2 separate regions of the Homo sapiens genome follow, and region 1 is linked to region 2. Evidence: promoter capture Hi-C in 16 types of primary human blood cells and fetal thymus (Javierre and others, 2016). All regions are on one chromosome and are shown on one strand. Each heading gives the region's core, a stretch centred on a gene start or on the middle of the fragment in contact. The rest is flanking DNA. Distances are from core to core; before and after follow the strand shown. Region 1 holds the start of DDX47 (DEAD-box helicase 47). Region 2 holds the start of MAGOHB (mago homolog B, exon junction complex subunit).

What was found. Contacts are between HindIII fragments. The CHiCAGO score rates a contact against its expected background, and 5 or more counts as called.
Region 1: a contact is called between the fragment with the promoter of DDX47 here and a fragment that was not itself captured in region 2, in 1 of 17 cell types (fetal thymus). The highest score is 5.6, in fetal thymus.

Annotation. Positions count from the first base shown.
Region 1 is chr12:12,809,167-12,815,544 of GRCh38, forward strand. It overlaps DDX47 (DEAD-box helicase 47), which reads left to right and starts at 4,180. Exons shown (of 12, transcript NM_016355.4): 1 at 4,180-4,288; 2 at 4,965-5,058. The coding sequence starts at 4,202. RefSeq lists an enhancer at 4,007-4,316. The HindIII fragment of the contact is 15,992 bases long and covers 1-4,987 here.
Region 2 is chr12:10,613,029-10,619,464 of GRCh38, forward strand. MAGOHB (mago homolog B, exon junction complex subunit) reads right to left here and starts at 581. Exons shown (of 5, transcript NM_018048.5): 1 at 411-581. The coding sequence starts at 504. STYK1 (serine/threonine/tyrosine kinase 1) reads right to left here. Exons shown (of 11, transcript NM_018423.3): 11 at 5,895-6,436. RefSeq lists enhancers at 1-517, 302-701, 518-1,395. The HindIII fragment of the contact is 670 bases long and covers 916-1,585 here.

The sequences.
Region 1 (6,378 bases), core at 2,930-5,429, 2.2 Mb after region 2:
CCAGGCTGGTCTTGAACTCCTGACCTCAGGTGATCCATCTACCTCAGCCTTCCAGATTGCTGGCATTACAGGTGTGAACCATTGCCCCCAGTCTAAGAGGCTTGGCTTCTATTCTTGTCTCTTGTGATCTTTACTCTTTCTTTACTCTTGTGTCTCTTTACTCTCTGGGACTAGAGTTCCTCCTCTGTCAAAAGAGGAATACAAACTCCCCAGCCGGTCTATGTAACAGAGAAGAGGAAGAGGAAGAGCCCAATTTAGCTGGGTAGATTCTCTTTGGGAGAAGTTGACTTCCCCTTATCCCAAAGCATATGTATTGACTTTGGAGACCATCTAGAGTGGCCCAATTCCAAGTCATAGGAGAATGAGATGGTAGCCATGAGGAGGGCTAAATAGAGAGATGGAATGCCTTAGACTGGGCTAGCATAATTGTATGCCTGTGACTGCCCAATAGAATCAATTTCAGGGTGACCTGTTGTCTTATGCAGTGTGTATTTTCTCTCCTTTCCTGTAACTTGGAGTGAACTAATGTAAAAAGACCAAAGTCCCCAGCCTATTCTGCAGCAGTGTAATCTTTTTTTACTACATATATATGTGTATATATATATATATATACATATATATATAAAATTAAAAAATATATATTTTAGACAGAGTCTCACTCTGTTGCCCAGGCTGGTGTGCAGTGGCACGACCTCGACTCACTGCAACCTCTGCCTCCCAGGTTCAAGCTATTCTCCTACCTCAGCCTCCAAAGTAGCTGGGATTACAGGTGTCCGCAATTATGCCTGGCTAATTTTTGTATTTTTAGTAGAGACAGGATTTCACCATGTTGGCTAGGCTGGTCTTGAACTCCTGACCTCAAATGATCCACCTGCCTTGGCATCCCAAAGTGCTGGGATTATAGGTGTGAGCCACTGTGCCCGGCCAGGAATGTAATCTTAAATATGGAAAAACCTCACTCCCTAAAAAACAAAGAGTGAAGTCCTCTCTGGTCTGCTATGGTTCCTGATCCCAATGCTTTGCTGTTTTACTTCAGCCAGGCAGCATTTCCAGAGCATCCACTTCTTGCCAGGGCCTGTGCTTAGAGCCAGGGGTATGAAGATCATCCCTTGTCTCTTAGATTGTTGGGGACCAGCCTCAACACCACCCGTAGGGTACCCAAAGTCCGGTGGCAACAAAGGAATGAGAAGAGACAGGTTAAGAGTGCATAAAGAGTGGGGGCCGGGGGGCCAATTGCAAAATGGAGGCTGCAAAAGGCCCAGAGTTCTGGTCTTCACTCTATTTATTGAGTACAATCCCTTAGATCTAAGAAGCAGATGTTTAGGGTGAAACAGTGAAAGGGAGGCAGTATGTCATAGGCGTAATCTATAGCAATGGCTGTTTAAATGAGTCTCCTTTGTTCTCAAACAGCATATCTTTAACTTATCGAAGAGTAGCTAGTGGGAGTGGGCTTAACTAGGAGCCTGAACGTCTGTCCACATTTCAATGCTTCAAAGGAGTGTCTTTCTCCTTGAACACAGTGTTTATAGATAAGAGAGCAGGTTGCGCTCAGAGCATGGGAACATAATGGCGATAAGAAGGCTTTCCTCCTCAGAGGCCTTTTGTGACTTGCCACAACTTATTGTCCCATATTTTTATGGCCCGTTTATGCAGGCACCCCACAAGCCCTTTTCCCAACATAGATCAGGGGTCCCCAGCCTCTGGGCCATGGACTGGTGCCAGTCCGTGGCCCGTTAGGAGCTGAGTTGCACAGCAGGAGGTGAGTAGCAGGTGAGCAAGCATTACTACCTGAGCTCCGCCTCCTGGTAAATCAGCTGCGGCATTAGATTCGCTTGGGAGCACAATCCCTATTGCAAGGGATCTAGGTTGCGTGGTTCTTATGAGAATCTAATGCCTGGTGATCTGTCACTGTCTCCCATTACCCCCACATGGAACCATCTAGTTGCAGGAGAACAAGCTCAGGGCTATCACTGATTCCACATTATGGCAAGTTGTACAATTATTTCATTATATATTACAATGTAATAATAATAGAAATAAACTGCACAATAAATGTAATGTGCTTGAATCATCCTGAAACCATCCCCGCCCCAATTCTGTGCAAAAAATGTCTTCCACGAAACCAGTCCTTAGTGCCAAAAAGGTTGGGGACCGCTGTCTTAGATGGTCTCCTTTTCTCACTCTTTCTACAGCCTATCTCCATATAGAGTTAGAGTAATATTTTAAATGTGTAGATCATGTCTCTTCCCTGCTCTAAACCCCCAGTGGCTTCCTTCTGCATTTAGGATAACATCCAAAACCCCAGACCTTTTACAACAGGGTCCTGCAGAGTCTGAGCTGAGCCCAATTCTCTGACCACATCCTACCCTTTTTGTTGTTGAGACACTGCTGTGATGCCTAAATCAGGGCCCTTTTTTAGTTGTGGTGGTGGGGAGGTCGGCAGGCACATTGAGTTGAGTTCCTCACAATTCTCAGGTCAAGCACACTGGCATCACAAGTCTCCTCTCTTGCTTTGTGTATTTATTATCCTTTTTTTTTTTTTTTTGAGACGGAGTCTTGCGCTGTCACTCAGGCTGGAGTGCAATGGCATGATCTCAGCTCACTGCAACCTCCGCCTCCGGGGTTCAAGCAATTCTCCTGCCCCAGCCCCCCGAGTAGCTGGGATTACAGGCACAGGCCACCATGCCTGGCTAATTTTTGTGTTTTTAGTAGAGACTGGATTTCACTATGTTGACCAGGCTGGTCTCGAACTCTTGACTTCAAGTGATCCATCTGCCTTGGCCTCCCAAAGTGCTAAGATACAGGTGTGAGCCACCGCGGCCGGCCTATTGTCTTATACACTTAATTCTTTTATTCCCAATTCCCAGTTTTATTCTAATTCTTCTCCCTCTGCAGGCAACCATTCTAAAATATTTCAAGTGTATCTTCTGTTGGATGTGTTTTAGCAGAATGTGATATCTGTGGGCCTATATTTTAATATACTTGATATATTTTATGCTTTTCTCACTAAGCACTAGGTTTTTCAGATCTAATCATATTGTTAAGGGCATGTTTGTAGACACCATGTTCACATTTTAACTATGCATTTTCCCAGTGACGGACACCAGATTGCCCCCAACTTCCCATCCTCAGGAATAAAACTGCAACGAGCACCCTGCGCAGTGTGAGACCCAAGTGACAGGCCACAGGAGGGCACTCGCTGGCCATGGGGCATGCAACATACAGCTCTGAATTTGCTGCTTTCCAGAATAGCCTTAGTAGCTTCACAGTCTTGGTACTTGGAATTCTCTCACTCTGGAATGATTATCTCCTGGGATCTTAAAGCGTTTTCTCCTGCTCAACAGTGAGGTCTTAACTCAAATATCACTGTCTCAGAGAGGCCTTCCCAATCTCACAGTTATCCCCACAACCCACCCTCCCCAGGTTACTCTGTAATTTTTATGTGAACAGGGTTTCACTCTGTTGCCCAGGCTGGAGTACAGTAGCACCATCTCCACTCACTGCAGCCTCAACTTCCGGGGTCAACTGATCCCTCAACCTCAGCCCCCTGAATAGCTGGGATTACAGGCGCATGCCACCATGCATGCCTGACTGATTTTTGCATTTTGCAGACACAGGGTTTCGCCACGTTGCCCAGGCTGGTCTCGAACTCCTGGGCTCAAGTGATCCGCCCGCCTCGTCCTCCCACAGTGCTGGGGTTACAGGCGTGAGCACACCCAGCTACTTTTCACAATTTGAAATGCTCTGTGATAGCTTATTTATGATCTGTCTTCTTTTTCTTCACGAGGGCAGGGGTCGCTGTCCTATTCACCAGCCATCTAGCATAGCCTTAGCAAATGGTAGGTTCTCAACATTATTGAATAAAGTAATGACATAATAAAAAAATAGTATTGTAATATCAATCCGTTCCAAACTCTATGGTTAGAAAAGCGGGGAACATAACTGGCGACACACGTAGGGAAGGCTCTTTAAAAGGGACCTAAAGGTCAACTGGAGTCCCTGGTGATCAGCCCCTTCTGCACTCGGATCTATTCCGCAAGCCTACGCGCCCATATTCACTGGGCCCCACCTGCCTAGCGGACGGGTGCAATCCCCGGCAAGCCCGCAGGGGGCGCGCAGAGCACGTCGTCCGGGGAGAACTAAAACTACATTTCCCAGCATCCCGCGCGCCGCAGACCCACTTCCGGAGACCTCACACAAGATGGCGGCACCCGAGGAACACGATTCTCCGACCGAAGCGTCCCAGCCGATTGTGGAAGAGGAGGAAACTAAAACATTTAAAGACCTGGTGAGAATGGATGACGCTGGCTTCTTTTATGTACTCTGGTGCTAGGCTCAGGGAGACCCCAGGTACCTTAGATCCCGCTCTGATAGTGTACAAAAGCATCTTGGGGCCTAGCTTGGGTTTTCCCCAGAATTTCAGAGGGCTGGGTTTCGGACGTGCTCTGAGTTTGGGTGGTGGGAGGGCTGCTGGGCCCTGAGACCCCCTATTTGCCCTATTCGCCACTTTAGTGTGGCAACGTTTGTATGTGCATCCAGGAGGTTGTACATATGGGGAATGGAATTGGTCTCTTTATAACTGGAGCTTTGGAGTCAGATGAACCAACCAGATTTGAATTTTGACACAGTCTCTTACTGAGGACAAGTTGTTACCTCTCTGTGTTTCTCTTTCCACATCTGTAAATTGGGGATAGTAATAAGTACTTACCTCGCAGAATTGTTGTGACGATTAAATGAGATGATACATGTAAAGCACCTGGCCTTGGCCTTGGTGAGCAGAAAGTGTTCGTTAAGTCTTGAGCTACTGTCTCATGGTATAGTTAAAGAGTAGGCTCTGAGATGCACAGTAAATACCTTTTAAATCAAATACAATGGTTGTACATGATGGGTCTGACAGTCAGTTAAGTAGGAGGGAGGTAGGGGTGTGCTGTTCTTGGCTAAGGTATATTTTTCTGAATTCCAAGGGTGTGACAGATGTGTTGTGTGAAGCTTGTGACCAGTTGGGATGGACAAAACCCACCAAGATCCAGATTGAAGCTATTCCTTTGGCCTTACAAGGTAGGTTGTATGACTTCGTACAGATTTAATATAAAGTTATCTCAATTAGATACCCCTTTTGAAAGCTGTTGCTTGCATACTTCAAGTGAAATAAGGATATGGTCACTAAAGGTACAAAGTTTGGGTAATGGTATTTGAAAATGTCATTCTCCAATTTTACTGAGCTTACTTTCTGTCTTAATAGCTGAAAGGGTTTGTTCTCTGCCACAGATGCTGACTTTAAGGAAGCCCTAGGTTAAAGTTAAAGTATATTAACGACAATCTTGGTAGACTTTATGCATCAGTGGGCGCACACTTAGGGAAGGATGCCTGGAACACATATGTGTGTCTTGAGGAGTTGAGAATTCTTGCTGTGAGCCATGTTTATCAGATTTGTAAAACAGTGGTTAAAGCAGATTGATGGCTACTGGAACTGAAACTAATGGGATGAACTTTTTTCTTTTTGAGATCTTTTTTTTAAGATGGAGTTTTTTTTGAGATAGAGTTTCGCTCTGTCGCCCAGGCTGGAGTGCAGTGGTGCGGTCTTGGCTCACTGCAACCTCTGCCTTCCAGGTTCAAGCAACTCTCCCGCCTCAGCCTCCCAAGTAATGGATTACAGGCGCATCACCATGTCCGGCTAATTTTGTATTTTTAGTAGAGATGGGGTTTCAGCATGTTGGCCAGGCTGGTCTCGAACTCCTGACCTCAAGTGATCTACCTGCCTTGGCCTCCCAAAGTGCTGGGATTACAGGTGTGAGCCACCACATCTGGCTGTAACAGGATGAACTTTAATAGGAGTAGAAGTAAAGTCCTGCTCTTAGATTCCTAAAGTACCAACTTTACAGGATTAGGGTGGGTGATAAAAGAGGCCCAGAGGTCTTAGTTAACTGAAATCTATTAAGATCCTCAGAGAGAGTGAATGTAATCATAGCAATTGTTATAAGAGGGGTAATGTGGCTAATTATTGTTAGTATTAATGTAGCTATTACTGTATTACTATATTATTAGTGATTAATGTAAGCTATAATTATTACTCATTAGTAATTAATGTAGTGATTATTATTGATAATAATTGAAAGATTTAATGATTTGAAGAGCTGTCATGTGGAAAAGGGGTTAGACTTACTCTACAAAATTCCATTTGCTCTTTCCATAAATAGTTACTATTTGTTGTAAATGTAAGGCACTGGAGGTTAACAGTCTGTCCTCTCCAAGAGTCTATAATCTATTAAAGAGATAATTATAAATTTATTACAAGTTGAACAGGGACCTAAGAAAGTTACATTCAGAGTGCACTGAGGGAGAAGAGATTACTTCTAATTAGGATGGATTAGAGAAGAT
Region 2 (6,436 bases), core at 1-2,500:
TTGTTAACACGTTGGGCTCCTCCCCTTCAAAGAAAACACACAGCCTAAATGAAAAAAAGGTACTGGTCACCACAAGATTTTATTCATCCACTGGACCACCCGCTGGTGGGGGTGTTTTCAAAAAAGTGCTAGCATTTTCAATCAGGGCGACGATCTAGAGTCCCTTCTGGTGCACTGTTACAGAATTCTGATTACTGTAGGTTCAACTTTTCAGTTTGTGACAGGATTAGCTTTAATTTATTGCAATTAATTCTCTTTCATTTATAAAACCAACTTATGCCTCCTCTATTCTTAAGCTCCTATTTCCTTCGAGGGAAGCAGTGGCCTCCGCCGCCTGTACCCTCCACACCACCCGGCCTCTCGGTCTCGCTCCCCTTTCCCAGCACCGCGTGCCGTGGGCCTCTTCTCACCGTCCGGCCGAAATTCGAACTCCAGAAACTCGTGCCCAAACTTGCCCTTGTGCCCTACGTAGTAGCGCAGGTAGAAATCGCTAGCCACAGCCATTTTTGTACCCGGGAAGCCCGCCGAAAACGCAGCCAACGTGTCCCCCGGCGCCTTGCAGTGACGTCATCGCGCGGAATAAGTGCGTCACCACAGGCGCTTCTCTTCCTCCTGCAGTGCAGCCCTAGACTAAAGCGTGAAAGCCGAGTATCGCGTGAGAGTCCGGAGGCGCTGAAGGGAGGGTCGCAGCGCCGTGACTTTCGCTTTACTAGGAATGGAGGCACATTGTTTTCAAAATAAAGATTACATTATACTAGCAAAGATTAGAAATGTGAGCATATGATAGTCTTTTTTATGGACTTAGAGCTAAAGGTTTGCAAGTCACTTTTACTTTTCTGGTCTCCCAATCCTTGCGGCGTTTGTGAGGTGGGTGTGGCTCTATGCCCCCTTTAACTGTGAGCTAAATAAAGATAAAGCTTAGAATCGAAATGGCAGACCGGGAATATAAACTATTTTTCTTACTTAATTTCTAACAGGGTGCTTTCCCTTTGGATAGCGATTGGTAGTTACCCGGGACCTCTAAGCCTATAATAATAGAGACAAAGTCAAAGGAATCCAACTCTTAAAACCCTCACACCCCCCACACCTGAAAAACCCTGACAGTCACCGTGCTTTTTTTAACAGCAGAACTTCTAAGGTTCTTAATTCATTCAATAAGGGTTAACTTTTAGTAGCCTGTGAAGTTTTGGCAATTTGACTTACGATACAATAATGGTTTAGCCCATTATTGTTTCTCGCCAGATAGAATTAAATTGGGGGAATGAAAGAATGCTCCAGTGTGGCGTAGTTTTTAAGGTAAGGGAAAGACTTTTACACAAAGTTTCCTTTTCAGATATTATTGATCACCCTTTTGTTATCAACACACAGAGTAATCCTATCTGTCGGTTGACAACCTTCAGTGATTTTTAGTAGAAAGTGGTGGAGAGAAGACCTGGGATTCAATCCCAACACTTAACAGCTAACTAACCTCGGGCAAGTGACTATCTCTAAGCCTGTTTGTTCATCAGCCTAATGCATATACAGCAATCTACATTGCCAAGCTCACAGAATTCTTGAGAGATCTAATGAGATAATATGTAAAATAAGCTTTAAATTTTATAAAACATTAGTTTTAACAAACATTTCCTATGTGACAGTTTGAAACTAGAAATAAGCCATTTGATCTGGTAGTCTAGAAAAGAAAGCAAACACGTAAGGCGAATACCAGCACAAGGGAGCAATTGCTATAATTAAGAATATATGTGCCATCCTGGCCAGCATGGTGAAACCCCGTCTCTATTAAAAATACAAAAAAATTAGCTGGGCGTGGTGGCGCGTGCCTGTAATACCAGATACGCGGGAGGCTGAGGCAGGAGAATTGCTTGAACCCTGGAGGCAGAGGTTTCAGTGAGCTGAGATCGTGCCACTGCATTCCAGCCTGGGCAACAAGAGCGAAACTCTGTCTCAAAAAAAAAAAAAAAAAAAAAAGAAAAAGAAAAGAAAGCCTATATGTGGCCGGGCGCAGTGGCTCATGCCTGTAATCCCAGCACTTTGGGAGGCCAAAGGGGGCAAATCACCCGAGGTCAGGAGTTCAAGACCAGCCTGGCCAACATGGCAAAACCTTGTCTTTACTAAAAATACAAAAATTAGCCAGGTTTGGTGGCACGTGCCTGTAATCCTAGCTACTCAGGAGGCTGAGGCAGGAGAATCGCTTGAACCCGAGAGGCGGAGATCGCGCAGTTGCACTCCAGCCTGGGTGACAAGAGCGAAACTTCGTCTAAAAAAAAAAAAGTGTGTAAAACATGCCGGTAGTACAGCAGAGGAAGCAAGAGCATTCTATTGCAGAGTAGGGAAATTTGAAAAAAGAGTATTGGAAAAGGCTTGTCAACGGAAGTGTTTGAATTGGACCTTGAGAAGTAAGTTCTGTGTATGTTCAGTGGGATGAAAAAGCATTCCAGGCAGAAAATGACCCGAGCAAAGACAGTGGTGTGAAAATTCATGTTTGGGGAACACTAAGAAATTCGGTATAGCTAGAGCATAAGGTTCAAGTAGAATGACTAAAAAGGCAAATTGGGCCACGTTTCCTTGAGTCCATATTAGTAGTTATATAACTATTAATATAGAAAAATGAATCAGTCCCTACAATGGGCCACCATTTTGGAAAGTACGTAAGAAACAGGAAGCACCATGTTTTACCACTAGGGTGACTAGCCGTTCCAGTTTGACCAGGACTGTGGAGTTTCCTGGGAAATGGGACTTTCCATACCTGGAAACACCCAGGCAAACTGAGATGGGTTGGTCACCACACTTACCACAAGAATAATTCACAGAAATTTGAACACTCTATTCCGTAGTATCTCTGGAAATATCAGCTGTAATCCATTTTGTTGAATTATATGGAAAGCCTCATTCAATATCTTAGATTCCCTAATGTCTCTCCTTCAGGTTTTTGGCACATGTGCCAATGTTCATCTTCATGTTTACCTAAATAGAACTATGGATACCAGAATGTGTAACTATATAAATAGAGGTTACAGAATGCACAAAGTATTAACATCTTTGTTAAGTGGGCCAGTTACTGTCTTGATCTCCAAAAATGACATAGGGGTTCAAGACTATAATCCTACCTGTTTGTAAGATAAAATATGAAACTATATTTACTTAACTCTCTATATTTTAAGCCAAAATTTGAACCTTTTGTATTGAAGCAAGAATTACAAAGTGATAAAGCATTTGCGTTGTGTTGTATTCTTGGATGGTACACAACAGTGATGTGGAAATGTTCTTCTGTATGGCTGCTGAGCCCTTGAAATGTGACTACTGTGACTTCGAACTGAATTCTTAATTGTGATTAATTTAGATTAACATTTAAATAAACACATGTGGCTAGAAGCTACTGTGTTGGTCAGCACAGTTAGAATCTTTTCATACACTTTTAGTTGGGCTAGAAATAGCAAAAAAAAAATTGTGAACATTTTCAAATTGCTTGTTGTAGGCTCCAAATTAGGACGTACTTACTGATATCAACACAGTTTACTTATGAAAATAAATATTTGAGCTGCTTAAGTGAAGCCAAAATACTGTTTCCACCTTTGCTAACACAGCGGTAAATTTCAAAGCACAAAGTGAAGTAGGTAAGAAATAAACGTTTTATTTCCATCTGAAATTAGGGCTTAATGATCAAATCATTCTGACTTCCAATTTTCAGAAACATGTTCCATGTTTATTGTGATAAGCACTAGGTATTATAGTCTCATGTTTTTAATTTATGAATAACGTCTGATTCATTTGATTTTGTATTTACAGAAGAAAAGATGTCAGGGCTATCTCATTCAGTTATTAATAAATGGATCAGAGTAGTAAGTCAAGAATAAGTGCATAATGTGGTTTAAATTTTAAAAAATACTCAGAATGAGGTAGTATTTTAATTTTTAATTCATCCACCCACCTTGCTCTTCTCTTTTCCATAATAGACTTCCCTGTGGACGTTAGCCTTATCTGTCTTTTTACCACTTAGTGGTATTAACTTTTTAAGTAAGAGAATCATGATCATGCAGAAACACCAAACTTTCCACACCATTCGTTATCACATATGTTCATATATGGCGAGAACTTGGAGCTACTTCTAGATTACCATGACATGATATATTTAATTCGATTGTTCAATCTAAAATTTTTTTCCAGCAAATGACAATATTATATGCTTCAAACACATAGCATAATCTCTAACTCTTTTCCCCAAAACGGGTAAACACAGTATGCTAAATTAAGGGTAATAGGATATCTTCCAGTCTTCCACTGTATTTGCTACTTATTTATTTCAGTAAGAGTGTTAAAGCAAAATTTAAAAAAATTATTGCAACAGAGTTAAGATTAAGAAATCTTAATTAACTGACTTTTTTTGTTTTAAAATGCTAAAAAAAAACCCACTACTATTATTTGATTTTAATAACAGAATACCTAAATCTGGCATAAAAAAACATAGTGTGCTCCATAAGCATAATTTAAGAACTACTGGTTCAGACTATTCTATTTTAAACGACGTTACCAAGTTTCCCTTAGACACTGTATCTAGGTGGGTGTTTGCGTTGTTCCTAAGTGTTGGAATTTTTTTTTAACAATAAAGCATAGATTGGAAAAACAAGACTGGAAGAGAAGGCAATCAAAACAATACAACAAAATCTATCTAGAGTCAACCCGATTAAATGATAAATATTTTGATTCTTTTTTTCATTCATTAGCTTGGAAACACCTAGTTTGGCTGAAAGGTCAATGATGCCAGAAATATCATCCTCCTTCTGGAAGAAGCCTGGCCAAGTGAGAGAAAGACCCAGTTTTCTTAGAGTAAAAATTACTGTATCCAGTTTTCCGGGCCGGAAAAACAAATAAAATTGGGGGTAAAAAACTTAAATATCAATTGTCTGCTTCTTTCCCTCCTACTAAAAGAAATATGACAGTACAACAAAGCAACCTTCCATTTCACTGTGTTCCACTTTCCCTTAGCTCACCGTGCTGCAACCCATATGCTTTCTTGCAGTTCCTTGCCTCAGAATTTTCACGCACACATGTCCTCCTCCTGGGAGACTCTTCTTATTCGGCCTGGGTTACTTACCCATCCCTAAGGTCTCAGTTTATAGCCCATTTCTGTTCAGGGAAGTGTTCCTTTTAAACTCCCTTCTACTACCCTATGCTTTTTCTTTATAGCACTTAACACTTCGCACTTAACAGATACCCACACAAATAAATGTATAATGTGTCTCACCTTCTAGACTGTAATCAAAAGCTCCCTATTTCTTTTATCCTACACCTAGCCAAGTGTCTGGCACAGCAAGCCTTAACACTCAATATTTTTCAGTGATCAGATAAATAAGTAAATATTTGTAATTTTGACTTAACTGAACAGCTGAGAGGCAACAATGGGATTCCATAGGACTTTGTAATTTTGTGTGAAGCCACTCTTCTGCCCTTCTCCCTACTGCAACTTGCTACCCATTTAAATCCTGACTAGTCATTGTGGTATTCTTACAGCGGCAAGAATCATTATTCCTTTAGCTGACTCATTATGATTCCATCAGGATTCCAACTTCTACAACATTTTTAGCTGCCAGTCATTTTTCTTATGGCAGCCTTAGATGTCCCTTCCAGGGTACCCAAAGTGTTTTTTAAAATTGCAGACTACCATGTTCAACAGAATTGCCCTCATGATGATGTTTTCAATATTTTGTAATAGTAGGAGTCCACTATCATCATCCAAAAGCGTACAAAAATGATGACTTCATCATTGCACATGTATAATATCACTACTTGTGCCATATCATCATCTTTAGGCATGTCCTGCCTTGCAGTGTTAGCGACTGAGTTTCTCTTCTTGGTCACAGTAGATTTTAAATGAAAAATATATGAAAGGTCCTGGGTTAGGAAGGGCAAAAGAAAAGGAGAAACACGTTTATTGAGCGCATATGTGCCAGATAGTGTACAAATACATACTCAAAACGTATCAATCCTCAGAACAACCTTGTGAAATAGGTATTATCCCCATTTACACATAAAGAATCCCTTTTCTGACATTGTACATTATCTCTTGAATTTTTCTATTGGCATTAACTTTCACTTATTTACTTTTATCCTCCCTATGATATTTTTAGTAGTTATAAACCAGAAAAGCATATTTCCATTTAATAAATATTAATTTAATAAAATAAGTTTCACAGTATATCAACAGATGATTGAAAATTAGAAGCTGCTATCCTTCCATATCAGATTACATTCTTTTCTAGCCCTTGTTAAAGACTGAGCTACTAAGCCTTCTTGCTTGGTTTCTACATTTCCTATTTATTGTGCACACACACACACACACACACAGAATTCTTTTCACTGTTCTAACATTGACTCTCTAGGCTTAGTCTCCTTAGTCTAATCGGAACTAGGAAGCTAGCTTAATGAACAATACATGTTG